Linked DNA regions of Homo sapiens: region 2 is linked to region 1. The links are contacts of gene promoters, found by promoter capture Hi-C in blood cells and fetal thymus (Javierre and others, 2016). All regions are on one chromosome and are shown on one strand. The core of a region is centred on a gene start or on the middle of the fragment in contact, and the rest is flanking DNA. Distances in the headings are between cores, read along the strand shown.

Region 1 (6,911 bases), core at 2,636-5,135:
ACACCGATTTCATCACCCTCCATGATGCAACATCGAGTGAAACAGCTAAGAGTGTGAGGTTGGGCGTGGGAGTGGAAGGTGGTCCAAAGCCGGGACTGCCCCGACCCCAGTGGAGGGTCCCAGAACAATTTCGAAGACGTCAGAATGAGGCCATCGGTGACCACACAGCTGGCTCCCAAAGCCTCCCCCAAGAGGTTGACCCTTTTCTTCTGAGAAACTTGTCCTGAATGGAGGTCTCCCTTCCCTTAGAGCTATTCAAAACTGCCCAATGACACTTCTGGTTCAAATATTATGATTCTGTAGGTATGAGCTAAGAGAAGAAAAAAAAATATTACGATTCTAAGTTAAATCTACCAAGGGCCGGGTACAGTGGCTCACGCCTGTAATCCCAGTACTTTGGGAGGCCGAGGCAGGCGGATCATGAGGTCAGGAGTTCGAGACCAGCCTGGCCATCATGGTGAAATCCTGTCTCTACTAAAAATACAAAAATGAGCCAGCACGGTGGTGGGCGCCTATAGTCCCAGCTACTCGGGAGGCTGAGGCAAGAGAATCGCTTGAAGCCAGGAGGCAGAGGTTGCAGTGAGCCGAGATGGCGCCACTGCACTCCAGCCTGGGTGACAGAGCAAGACTCTGTCTCAAAAAAAAAAAAAAAAAAATGGAAATCTACCCTTTAGATTAAACATTTCCAGCATCAGAGAATTATCTGAGTTTGGGTGAGAACTGTTTTGCCTCTCTCCCTAATAAGGTGGACACCAATGGAATAAGGAAAGGGGAGGGGGCAGGATAGGGAGTTCACCTTACTTGTGTACAACGTCTCCTATGTTCTTCCCATCTCTGGTCCCCATTCTGGGAGCCCTAAAAGATAAGAGATGAAAGAAAGATGAAAAGGAGGAGGAAGTAGAGCCTGGGGGATGGGATGAGAGGGACAAGGGTGAGTTGGAGGCACAGGGCTCTGCCTCTTTGTTTCACTTCCTGGTGCTGCAGGAGTTGGGTAGGAAGAAGGGTTGGTGGGGAGATTGTGGGACTGTTGCGTGGCAGGAACTACATCCAGGGCTACAACTGACCTGGAGCTATAAGGAGCCCTTGACGTCAGCTGGGCCTAAACCGTTATGCAAATCGCATTCACAAGACACTCCTAGGCAGGTCTTTCCAGTTGTATGCCTAGACTCCAAATCAGTTGAAGTTCCCCCAGGTGGTTAATAATGATGGCTAATATATCCAACTCTCGCTTAATGCCAAATACTTTGTCTAAGCACTTTACATGTACTAAACTATTTAATTTTCACAACAACCCTTTAAGGTAGATACTATTACCCTATATTACAGAGGAGGAGGCTGAGGTGCAAAGATAAGCAATTTGCCCAAGATCACAGAGCTTCTAAGTGGCTAGAATTCCTTTTTTTTTTTTTTTTTTTTTGAGATGGAGTTTCGCTCTTGTTGCCCAGGCTGGAGTGCAATGGTGCCATCTCATCTCACCGTAACCTCTGCCTCCCGGGTTCAAGTGATTCTCCTGCCTCAGCCTCCCAAGTAGCTGGGATTACAGGCATGCACCACCATGCCCGGTGGCTAATTTTGTATTTTTAGTAGAAACAGGGTTTCTCCATGTTGGTCAGGCTGGTCTTGAACTCCCAATCTCAGGTGATCCACCCGCCTGCGGCCTCCAAAAGTGCTGGGATTACAGGCATGAGCCACCACACCCAGCTTAAGTGGCTAGAGTTCTAATGCAGACAATCTAGCATCAGATCCTGCATTCTTTTTTGTTCTTGGTTTTTGGGGGGTTTTGTTGAGACAGGGTCTCACTCTGTCACCCAGGCTGGAATGCAGTGGCACCATTTCCGTTCACTGCAACCTCCACCCCTGGGACTACAGGCACAAGCCACCATCCCGGTCTGGATCCTGAATTTTTAATCACTGCATTACACTGGATACTGTACGCCAGGTATGGTGGCTCATGCCTGTAATCCCAGAACTTTGGGGGGCCGAGGCAGGAGGATCGCTTGAGCTTAAGAGTTCAAGACCAGCCTGGGTAACGTGGCAAAACCCCACCTCTACAGGAAAAAAAAAATTATCTGGGTTTGGTGGCCAGTGCCTGTAGTTACAGCTAGTTGGGAGGCTGAAGTGGGAGGATCGCTTGAGCCCAGGAGGTTGAGGCTACAGTGAGTGAGAGGGCCAATGCGCTTAAGCATGGGCAACAGAGTGAGATCCTGTCTCAAAAAAAAAAAAAAAAAAAGGCTGGGCGCGGTGGCTCACACCTGTAATCCCAGAACTTTGGGAGGCCGAGGCAGGCAGATCACCATCTAATATTACTGTATTAGAAACAGTAATTACAGCTGAGCTAAATAATCTATGTCATGGATGCTCTTGTGTCTCCTCACAGTATCCTTTTTTCTTTTCTTTTTTTTTTTCTTTTTTTTGAGACGGAGTTTCGCTCTTACTGACCAGGCTGGAGTGCAATGGTGCCATCTCGGCTCACTGCAACCTCCGCCTCCCAGGTTCAAATGATTCTCCTGCCTCAGCCTCCCAAGTAGCTGGGATTACAGGCTCCCGTCACCAGGCCCGGCTAATTTTGTATTTTTAGTGGAGACGGGGTTTCTCCATATTGGTCAGGTTGGTCTCGAACTCCCGACCTCAGGTGATCCGCCCACCTCGGCCTCCCAAAGTGCTGGGATTACAGGCGTGAGCCACTGCGCCCGGCAGACATGGATTATTTAGCCCAGGTTATTAGGGATCTGTAACTCTCATGGGTCTGTTAAGTCTTTCTCAATTTGAGACCTCAAGATGGAGATTTCTTAAAGTGTAGGAACTGTCTATGTCTCTCAGCATCCACCTTTTTCGGAGATTCTATATCTAATGACCTGCGAAGTCAGATCAAATCAGTTTGAGAGACCATCTGTGTTTTTCTCTTGGTCTAGGCTCTAGGTAGGATCTCTGACTGGGTATAGGACCCCACCCCTCTGAGTCCTAGAAATTTAAATTCTTGGTTCCTTTAATGAAGGTCTATTTACCAGCCTTTATTGAGAGAAATGTTATAGAATTGAATCCTCCATGAGGAATGTCTCCCATCAGAGTCCCTTTATGTGGCCTTTAGAAACAGTAATAACAGCTGAGCTAAAGTGCTCTGAGACATCTCACAACCTAGACCCATTTCAAAGTAATTAGAGTTCACAGGACCCACGAATCCTTCAGAATAACAAGTCCCAATTTGCCATGCTCATCCCCCTCTGAGGGATAACGTCCAGCCAGCCTCAAGAGCTAGGGGAATTTGATAACCAGGGGCATCTTGTTACCCGGGAATGTTACCGGGGTCTCTGGGGAGGGAACAATCACGGATGGGAGTTTCAGATGGATGCCTGTAGAAGATGCAGCCACTTGGACTGTGTCAGGAGTCCGGCTCCCGCTTCCTTTTTTTTCTCTCCCATATCTGGAAATAATAGGAAATGCCAGCGAGTTTTGGGGGCAACAGGGTCAGAGGTGGCGGAGTGGCTCACTAGGGCACCGCAGGAAGAGGAGGTAGACTAAGCCCCGCTGGGAATACCCAACAGCGACTCCTAGTGCTTTGCCTTGTGTGTCCCTTATTTTAGAGTTCCTAAAGTTATAGAAAGCATAAAAGTTTGGTTTTCAAACCTAGACGTAATTTTGTTCAAGAAGACTAAAAACAGAGTTACTTTCTAACGCCACCCAACAAGTCCGGCGTCTGGCTGCGTTTGTCCCACCGGCGCCCCGTAACCTCTTTTTCCGGCGCGTGCGTCACACGCTCTCTCCTGGGGTCGCCGTACCTGGCTCCTTCTGATTGGCTTAGATGCGCCCGGAGCCCTTCTGATTGGCTAAAATATGCCCCGAGCCCTTCTTGATTGGAAGAAGCGCCTCGGACCCCGGTCCTTGGCGCCGTAGTGGTTAGGTTGAGCCCTAGGCGTGGGGGAGAACTGGGGAAACTGGAATTTCCCGCGGAGCTGACAGCGCTTGCGCTCCCCCTACTCGTTCTAATTCCACGCGCTCCAAAATATCCGCCATGGAGAAATCTTGGTAATGACCCATTCCCCGTAAGCATCCCAGGAACACATCTGACCCTTGCCCTATCCCCCTCCTCACCGCTGCCGTGGGAGAATTCTAGATAACCGATTTTTCTGGTTCCCCCAGAGAATTCTGGGTAACTAGCCGTTTCCGTCACCTTCCCCTGCCCCCGCCCCAATTGTGGGTAACTGGCCATTATTGTTTTCCTCTAGAGAATCCTGGGTAGCTATTGGAGAGGATTCTAGGAAACTGACTTCTCGTTCTCCCCACCGTCCAATCCACCCGTTTTCACCCCCAATTCTGGGAGAAAGCACCTTAAATCCCTCTACCTAACTCCAACCCCCGCAATTCTCGCTCCCTTCACCTGATGATTCAGGGCTGAACAAGGCAAGTGAGCAGTCCGAAGTGAGAAGAAAGGGAAGTCAAGGATTAGGTTAGATAATGGGGTGGTGGAGAGTACAGAGGGCCTAGCGGAGGAGGGATAGGGACAACAGTTCTACCACCTCCACCCCCACTGCCCATCCCTCCCCCGCCTGCTTCATCCTTTGGCTGGCAGTCTCATCCCTCATGCCTGCCTCATCTCCCTCCTGCCCCCATAACCTAGAAGACCCTAAGTACCAGTACCTGGGCCTACCCTTGACTCAGCTACCTCTTTCCCCTTACAGGCCAGGATGTCCATTCTAGGCCCATCGGTGCTGTCTTGCTGAAGGTTGGGTCAGGCATCTAAAGGGACTGTGGTAAGGGAGGGTGTGACACAGGTGTAAGCTGCCATCGTCATCATGAACTTTGAGGGTCTGGACCCTGGACTGGCAGAATATGCCCCAGCCATGCATTCTGCCCTGGACCCTGTCTTGGATGCCCACCTGAACCCAAGTCTGCTACAGAATGTGGAGCTGGACCCAGAGGGAGTGGCCTTGGAGGCTCTTCCCGTCCAGGAATCAGTGCACATAATGGAAGGTGTCTACTCTGAATTGCACAGCGTGGTGGCTGAAGTGGGTGTACCTGTTTCCGTCTCCCACTTTGACTTGCACGAGGAGATGCTGTGGGTGGGGAGCCACGGGGTAAGAACTGTACCCCTTTGTGAGGGTTGAAAGATGTTGAAGGTCTTTATCTGGTCTTAACCCAAGGAAGCTGCTTTGCAGATAGCCAGTACCGAGGAGTTGTAGTGATGAGACAGCTGGGTCTGGTTGGAGGGATAAAGGGAGAATCTAGGATCTAGGAGTAAATGACATATTCTTTCTCAGGAGGCATCCCTTTTTTTTTTTTTTTTTTTCGAGACAGGGTCTTGCTCTGTCGCCTAGGCCAGAGTGCAATGGCGTAATGTGATCATGGCTCACTGCAGCCTCAATCTCCTGGGCTCACACAATCCTCCCACTTTAGCATCTCAAGTAGCTGGGACTACAGGCATGCGCAACCAAGACCAGCTAATTTTTAAAAAATTTTTTAGTCTTACTATGTTGCCCAGGCTTGTCTCAAACTCCTGAGCTCAAATGGTCCTCCTGCATAGAGCTGCCAAAGTGCTGGGGTTACAGGTGTGAGCCACGGCACCTGGCCAGCATCCCACTTTTGTCACAATTGCCCATCCAGTGTTTTGATTTATCTTGATAGTTGTACCCATCACTTAGTCTGTAGCCATCCAAATCTAATCTCAATTGCTGTTGCCCCACCTGTGTTTTCTATTTTTATTATTATAGAATATTTAATGAATGATTCTGCATATCTTCCATTGAATCATTTTGTCTTCTCTGGCTGATTTTAATATCTCTCAGAGCAGTTATCAATCTTAATTTTTTAAAATCTGTACCCGTATTGCCAATATGCTATGGTGCCCAAAGACTTTGTAAGAAATACTGTGCTGTCCGGCCGGGACCGGTGGCTCACTCCTGTAATCCCAGCACTTTGGGAGGCTGAGGCAGGCGGATCACGAGGTCAGGAGATCGAGACCATCCTGGCTAACATGGTGAAACCCTGTCTCTACTAAAAATGCAAAAAATTAGCTGGGCATGGTGGCAGGCGCCTGTAGTCCCAGCTACTCGGAAGGCTGAGGCAGGAGAATCGCTTGAACCTGGGAGGCAGAGGTTGCAGTGAGCCGAGATCACGCCACTGCACTCCAGCCTGGGTGACAGAGCGAGACTCCGTCTCAAAAAAAAACAAAAAACAAAAAAAAAAAAAACGCTGTCCTTCATTTACTGATTGACTTCTTTGGTCATGAATTGTTTTTCCATTAGAAGGGATGAATTTTTGTGTGTGATTCATTCAGTTTAATAGGCAGTGTCTACTGCTATGCTAGGCACTGTGAATAAAGCTAAATAAAACATAATCCTTGCCCTCAAGGAGTTTACAGGACAGTGAGGTAAAAAACATATACAAAACCAGATAATTTCATGGTACTAAGCGCCAGTGTGAAAATCTGTACTGGATGCTGGACAGGATGGAGAATAGTCAGAAAGGGCATCGAGGAGGAAGTAACCCTTGAACTGAGTCTTGCAACATGAGTAGAAATCAGGTGAGAAAGATGGGAAAAGGCGTCTTAGCATAGGATAAACAAAGATTCCCAAGATACTACAAAGCTTGCTGAGTACAAAATTCAGGAACTACAAGCAATTAGGATTTACCGGACTGGAAGAGGTAGACATTTATTCATTCAACCAGTGTTTTTTTGAGCCACATGCTAGGTGTCAGACCTTGCCCTAAGGTCTAGGTTTGGAATAAGCAGTAAACAGAAAAACATTACAATACATCAGGTGTTGATTAGTACTGTTAAGAAAAATGCTGGCTGGGCATGGTGACTCACACCTGTAATCCCAGCACTTTGGGAGGCCGAAGCAGGCGGATCACCTGAGGTCAGGAATTCAAGACCAACCTGGCCAACATGGTGAAACCCCCGTCTCTACTGAAAA
Region 2 (7,038 bases), core at 2,443-4,942, 280 kb before region 1:
TTCACAAGAACTGTATGATTCCTTTCCTGACCAGAATTTTGAGGTGATGCCCAATGGACCCCCTAGTTTTTTCACCTCCCCACAGACTTCTCCTATGTTGGGATCTAGCATTCAAACCTTTGCACCCTCCCAGGAGGTAGGCAGTGGTATCCATCCTGATGAGGCAGCAGAAAAGGAGATGACTTCAGTTGTGGCAGAGAATGGCACTGGCTTGGTAGGCAGCTTGGAGCTGGAAGAAGAGCAGCCAGGTATAACTGGGTTGGTGAACTGGGTGGGGAAAGGAAAAATGGAGCTCGGGGGGGATAGTGGCTTTTTGAGGTGAGAAAAACTTGTCTTTCCAGCTCTCTGCAGTGGAGGCTGATTTGCATGTTGGTGATTAGCAATTAGCAGAGCCAAGTGGCTGGTGTTTTTGTGGCAGCAGCACCAGCTCGCGAGTGGGAGTGCAAATTATTTCAAGCTCATGCAGAGCTTCTGGCCTGGAGAGGGCAGGTGGGCGAGCCCGAAACAGCCCCAACAGACACCCTGCATCAAGAAAGGCTTCTTTCAAAATATACGGAGTGGTTAGGGTCTAGCAGCGGGCATTGAGGCTGTTTTAACTGACTGTGGCAGGATCAGACTGGCTGTTAAAGTCGTCTGAGCCCAATGTAGTGATTGGCATGCGAAGGAGGGAAGGAAGCAGGCAGAGCATATCATTATTTGTCTACTCAGTTTCCTTTTTTTTGTTGTTTAGCATTAGTACACGTGACAGCCCCTCTCATCTTTTCCCTCAAAATAGATAAAAGCTTAGCTTCCAGTTGATTCCTGGTACAAGGGTAACCACCACTCTGTAAAATTACAGGATGTTTTCTCGTTTCCCAATGGATGGAGGAGATATCTGAGAACATGATAGAGATGTTGTATCAGACCCCACTCTCTTTTCCTCTCTTTGCCTGCTGTAGGATTGATTTTACCAGCACATCTCTGCTCAGAGTATCTTGATGTGATCGGTTCCCAGCAATGAACTGGCCGCAATAAATGTTGAATGAATGAACATCCTTCTAGCAAAGATTGACTGCCTAGTATAGCTAAGTGAACCAATATAAGGCACTGATTTTGACTTTTGGTCTCTCCTGTGATTTCCTAGAACTGAAGATGTGTGGCTACAATGGCTCTGTCCCTTCTGTGGAATCGTTACACCAAGAGGTCTCAGTCCTGGTCCCTGACCCCACAGTGAGCTGTTTAGATGATCCTTCACATCTTCCTGATCAACTGGAAGACACTCCAATCCTCAGTGAAGACTCTCTGGAGCCCTTCAACTCTCTGGCACCAGGTAGGTTTGGAGGCTATGTCCCTTTAACTTATCCATGCAGAGTAGCCAAACTTTACCTGAAAGAGACAGTAAAATGGGAAAAGTATTAGGCAATCAGGGGCACTGGGGCTTCCAGGTAGGCCTAAGGCAGACCACAGTTACATGCCACAGGACTTGGTGCCCTAACTGAATTCTGAGCTGAATTGGTTCATGTCCCAGGTTCTTTCCCAGTATTCCTTTTGGCCAAGAGCTCTGGGCTGTAATAATTCACTGGGTAGGGACTTATTATCACACAGTTGATCTTTCTGGGTTCTGACAAACTAGGAAGAAAACATTTGTCAGTGAGCAGTTACCTTTTACTCCACTGAAGTACAAGAAAGACATATTTTATGATAAATCCTAGAATTTTGCATAGGTCTCTGGGTAGATAATACCACCAATGCCTTTCCTTTCATTTTCACCTTGTAGAGATGAGGTCTTGCTATGTTGTCCAGGCTGGTCTTGAACTCTGGCCTCAAGCAATTCTTCTGCCTCGGCCTCCCCTCAAACTTTTATGATCCCTATAATCTCATGACTACTCTTTCAGGGAGAAGGCTTTACTTGTTACCTAACTTAATATTAGGAAGAATCTTCACATTGTGGGAACTAGAATTGGATGTTTTCTGACCAGTGTTTCTTAAATCTTGCTTTCTGATTTTTTTCTCATTATCCTGCTCTGATTTTTCTACCCTTGTAAACAGAGCCAGTGAGTGGAGGACTATATGGTATTGATGACACGGAGCTGATGGGTGCAGAGGACAAGCTGCCTCTTGAGGACAGCCCTGTGATTTCTGCCCTTGATTGCCCTTCCCTCAATAATGCTACTGCCTTCAGTCTCCTGGCAGATGATAGTCAAACATCAACCTCTATCTTTGCCAGTCCCACCTCTCCACCTGTCCTAGGGGAGTCTGTCCTGCAAGGTAAGTGACGGTAGGTAGGACAAAGAAAGACCTTTACCTGAGAAAAGATGAGAGAATAAGTTTCATAGTTAGGGCCTTAAGAGTGGGAAATCTGGCTGGGCGCAGTGGCTCACGCCTGTAATCTCAGCACTTCGGGAGGCCGAGGCGGGTGGATCACCTGAGATCAGGAGTTTGAGACCACCTGGCCAACATGGTGAAACCCCGCCTCTACTAAAAATACAAAAATTAGCCAGGTGTGTTGGCACATGCCTGTAATCCCAGCTACCTGGGAGGCTGAGGCAGGAGAATCGCTTGGCCCCAGGAGGCAGAGGTTGCAGTGAGCCGAGATTGTGTCGTTGCACTCCAACCTGGGCAACAGAGCAAGACTCCATCTCAAAAAAAAAGTAGGAAAGCAAGAGCACCTTGCTGGGAGCTGAGGGGCTATGGGATAGTGTATGGTGGAACTAAAAGAGGTATAGGCTGCTATACTCCGACCTGTGCCCTCTGCTTTGAAGAACTTGTGAGACTTGGAATTTGTAGGGAGAAGGAGGCTAGAAGCTTTATTGGCACCAGGTAAAAGGTATTTCTTCACACAATGACATCTGTAGCAACTTTACCCTTTAATCCTCATGATTGGTTGGGAGAAAAAGCTACTTCTTTTTCCAACCCTAGGGAAGACCCCTTGAAGTAACCCTGTTTAGCTTGGTCCAGGGTTGACTGAGTAGATTCTCTTGTTTTATGTGATGCCTTTTTTTTTTTTAAAGCCTATCCTGTCCCTTTGGATTCTAGATAACAGCTTTGACCTGAATAATGGTAGTGACGCTGAACAGGAAGAAATGGAAACTCAATCTTCAGACTTCCCACCATCCCTGACCCAGCCAGCTCCTGATCAGTCATCCACTATTCAGCTACATCCAGCAACCTCACCAGCAGTCTCGCCAACAACCTCCCCAGCAGTCTCCCTAGTGGTTTCTCCAGCAGCCTCCCCAGAAATCTCTCCAGAAGTTTGTCCCGCAGCTTCTACAGTTGTCTCTCCAGCAGTCTTCTCAGTGGTCTCTCCAGCTTCCTCAGCAGTCCTCCCAGCAGTCTCCTTAGAAGTCCCGTTGACGGCTTCAGTGACATCCCCAAAAGCCTCTCCCGTAACTTCCCCAGCAGCTGCCTTTCCAACAGCCTCCCCAGCAAATAAGGATGTCAGCAGCTTTCTAGAAACCACTGCTGACGTGGAAGAGATCACTGGAGAAGGACTCACTGCTTCTGGTAGTGGTGAGTATCCAGATTCTATTCTATCCCTGTCTGGTTCCAAGAAACTTTTCTGTCCCATGTTGTAGTTAGCCTTTCCCTATTGGCCTATTGTTTAAATATTTTGCTTGAACTCTTAACTTGGGTATCCCTTCCTCCCAAGGTGATGTCATGAGGAGACGTATTGCTACCCCAGAAGAAGTTCGTCTTCCCCTCCAACATGGGTAAATGCTCTAGTTTGCTACATTTATTGACCTTGACAAGTTTAATGCACAACTCTAGAAAGAAGGGAATGCCTCTTTTCCTCTGAGGTGGGGGAGGAATGGGCCAGACAAGAGTAGATTACAGGACAGTTATCTGCAGTGATAATGTTTCTTGGCATGAGATTCCTAGGTTTTCCTTCTTCTCTCAAGGTCTGTCTTCCATCACCTATTCTTTTTTCATCTTGTAGTGACTCAATTTTGCCCAAGGAGCTCCAGCTATTATCTTTTCCAAACCCTAGGGCTCACATCCAAACCAGCTGGCTTGTCCTATTTCTGTGGACAAGGGATAGTAATGAATGAGGAGTGACTTAGTACTAATGAATTGAGGTGGTTTTGTTGTTTTAATGCTCTTAGGAGAGGTAAGGGCAGGAACAGTACATGACCAAAATGAACAAACTAGCTGACACCAGGGCCTTGTGGAAATAACTGCCTTCCTGGATCTTCCCCACCCCTGCCCCTCAAGGCTACTTGTGGTCACCAAGTCTGAGTACTGCTTAAAATTTTGAGAGAAAGATTAGAGTTAGTCTTAGAACTAACTCTGACTAACTTTGTGTTCTGCTCAGAACACAGAGTTCCTAACTAAACCCTGGCATATTGAGTCTTTTCATGGAATCAGCAGCAAATTTATTTTTCTGCTTGCCTCCCTGCCCTTTGTCTTCTGTCTTTATTCCCCTTAGGTCTTTATCCTCTTTACTGGAAATCCAGTAACTGCCCTGAATGGCTCAGGGAGGGGTTTCTGGCAGCTTATCTCACTGATTTTGTAAAGGAGGGATGGAGATCTCTCTGAGCTTGTGCAGTTTGGTGTAGTGCTTTTCTCCTAAGGGCCTTGATGTATTTGCTGGAGCTCAAGTCAGCCTTCTAGCCAAGCTTATCTCTCTTGGTGCTTTTGCATCTGCATGCAGTTCTAGAGATACAAATGTGGGGAGGGCCATCTGCTCAGAGGGCTTCGCGCTTAGGTGGCATGGGAGTGGGTAGGGGTGTGACCTGGCGGCAGGGCCCATGTGCTTCTCTGGCAGGTGGCGGAGAGAGGTGCGCATCAAGAAGGGCAGCCACCGATGGCAGGGGGAGACCTGGTATTATGGCCCCTGTGGGAAGAGGATGAAGCAATTTCCAGAAGTGATCAAGGTAATGTAGCTTTTTTTAAAGGACTGCTTTCTTGGGCTCAGTGGACTCCTTTCCACTGCCCAAGACTCCGTTCTTGGGCTCAGTGACAACAGGCTGGCATTGTCTGCTCTGGGCCTGTTCTGCTTATGCCTTTGCTGGCCAAAGACATGGTAGGATCCAACTTTATTAATGTTACTTTACTTCTTCCTCTTAGTACCTGAGCCGCAACGTGGTACACAGTGTCCGCCGAGAGCACTTCAGCTTCAGTCCCCGTATGCCTGTTGGAGATTTCTTTGAAGAAAGAGACACGCCAGAGGTGCAGACCCAAGGGTTAAATATGCTTTTGTCCCTGAGGAAGAGTTGGTGGACAAGCTGCAGCTTCCTCTCGTGGGGTTTGAAGGTTCTGGGGCATTGAATGGTTCCGAGGGCCTCGTGGCCTGCACTGATTCCTTACTACTGTAACAGTCTCCCTTGCTACCTTAGGGCTTGCAGTGGGTGCAGCTCTCAGCAGAGGAGATCCCGTCGAGGATTCAGGCAATTACTGGCAAACGGGGTCGACCTCGAAACACTGAGAAGGCTAAGACTAAGGAAGTCCCCAAGGTGAAACGGGGTCGAGGTCGGCCACCTAAGGTCAAAATCACTGAGCTATTGAACAAGACAGACAACCGCCCCCTAAAGAAACTGGAGGCCCAAGGTACAGTGGTATTTCTTACTTTGGGATTCTGCTCCCTCCATGAGGTATCTAAAATGTTGATGAATTGCTAATACCTGGATTTCCCAGGAGTGTAACTAACATTATCTGGGAAGAATGAATCTGAATCAGCTTCTCCTTGGAATCCAGCATCCTAGTCCCAGCGCTTGGGAATACTACTTTTCCAGCCATGGTCTTTCTTGAGTTGCTGTTACCAGTGAAACCTTGGGCTGCCCCCAGGTGTGTTTAGCCCAGAGGAGAGGACTTTCTTGCCCTTTCTTTCCATCTTTTAGCTCCTTATCATATACTGGTTCAGTTGTACCCTTTTACCTTACCCATTTCTACTATCATGGAGGTTCAGAATTCACATCTGAATTCAAAAGATAATTGGGAGCCAGGCATGGTGGTGTGTGCTTAATAATCCCAGTTACCCAGGAGGCTGAGGCAGGCAGCAGAGGATCACTTGAGCCCAGGAGTTTGGAGGCTACAGTAAACTTCAGTTGTGTTATTGCATTCCAACCTGGGCAACAGAGCAAGGCCCTGTTTCTAAAAAAAATAATAGGCCGGGCACAGTGTCTCACACCTGTAATCCCAGCACTTCGGAAGGCCAAGGCGGGCGGATCGTGAGGTCAAGAGATTGAGACCATCCTGGCGAACATGGTAAAACCCCGTCTCTACTAAAAATACAAAACAAAAAATTAGCTGGGCGTGGTGGTGTGTGCCTGTAGTCCCACCTACTTGGGAGGCTGAGGCAGGAGAATAGCTTGAACCTGGGAGGTGGAGGTTTCAGTAAGCTGAGATTGCGCCACTGCACTCCAGCTTGGTGATAGAGCTAGACTCTGTCTCAAAAAAAAAAAAAAAAAAAAAAAAAGCCAGGCACGGTGGCTCACGCCTGTAATCCCACCACTTTGGGAGACTGAGGAGGGCAGATCACCTGAGGTCGGGAGTTCAAGACCAGCCTGACCAACATGAAGAAACCCTGTCTCTACTATAAATACAAAATTAGCCAGGCATGGTGGCGCATGCCTGTAATCCCAGCTACTCGGGAGGCTGAGGCAGGAGAATGGCTTGAACCCAGGAGGCAGAGGTTGCAGTGAGCTGAGATCACACCATTGCACTCCAGCCTGGGCAACAAGAGTGAAACTCCATCTCAAAATAATAATAATAATATAATAATAATAATAGGCACTGTTTTAGTGGATGGACAGGTGAGAAATACCTACATTTTTCAGTAAATAGTGTGTTTACCCTGGTGTAGTGTGAAGAATGTGAAAAAACTTAGTCTTTTGATTTTCACTCAGACATCTAGCCGTGTCATGTTTCAACCAAATGACCTAGAACAAGTCTCATTTTGTTTTTTTTTTTTTGAGACAGAGTCTTACTCTGTCACCCAGGATGGAGTGCAGTGGCACGATCTTGGCTCACTACAAGCTCTGCCTCCTGGATTCACCCCATTCTCCTGCCTCGGCCTCCCGAGTAGCTGGGACTACAGGTGCACGCCACCACACCTGGCTA

What was found. The method cuts DNA at HindIII sites, captures the fragments that hold promoters and counts their contacts. A CHiCAGO score of 5 or more calls a contact.
Region 2: a contact is called between a fragment that was not itself captured here and the fragment with the promoter of PAN2 in region 1, in 1 of 17 cell types (erythroblasts). The highest score is 6.1, in erythroblasts.

The regions. Positions count from the first base shown.
Region 1 is chr12:56,330,974-56,337,884 of GRCh38, reverse strand. It overlaps PAN2 (poly(A) specific ribonuclease subunit PAN2), which reads left to right and starts at 3,885. Exons shown (of 26, transcript NM_014871.6): 1 at 3,885-4,023; 2 at 4,677-5,072. The coding sequence starts at 4,791. RefSeq lists enhancers at 266-1,113, 3,448-3,617, 3,535-3,754, 3,880-4,049 and cis regulatory regions at 3,964, 3,949-3,980. The HindIII fragment of the contact is 11,393 bases long and covers 1-6,583 here.
Region 2 is chr12:56,608,224-56,615,261 of GRCh38, reverse strand. It overlaps BAZ2A (bromodomain adjacent to zinc finger domain 2A), which reads left to right. Exons shown (of 29, transcript NM_001300905.2): 3 at 1-248; 4 at 1,124-1,309; 5 at 2,029-2,247; 6 at 3,016-3,489; 7 at 3,629-3,689; 8 at 4,745-4,853; 9 at 5,047-5,148; 10 at 5,316-5,526. Among named protein-coding and RNA genes, the nearest start is that of BAZ2A, 19 kb to the left of the region's middle. The HindIII fragment of the contact is 1,811 bases long and covers 2,787-4,597 here.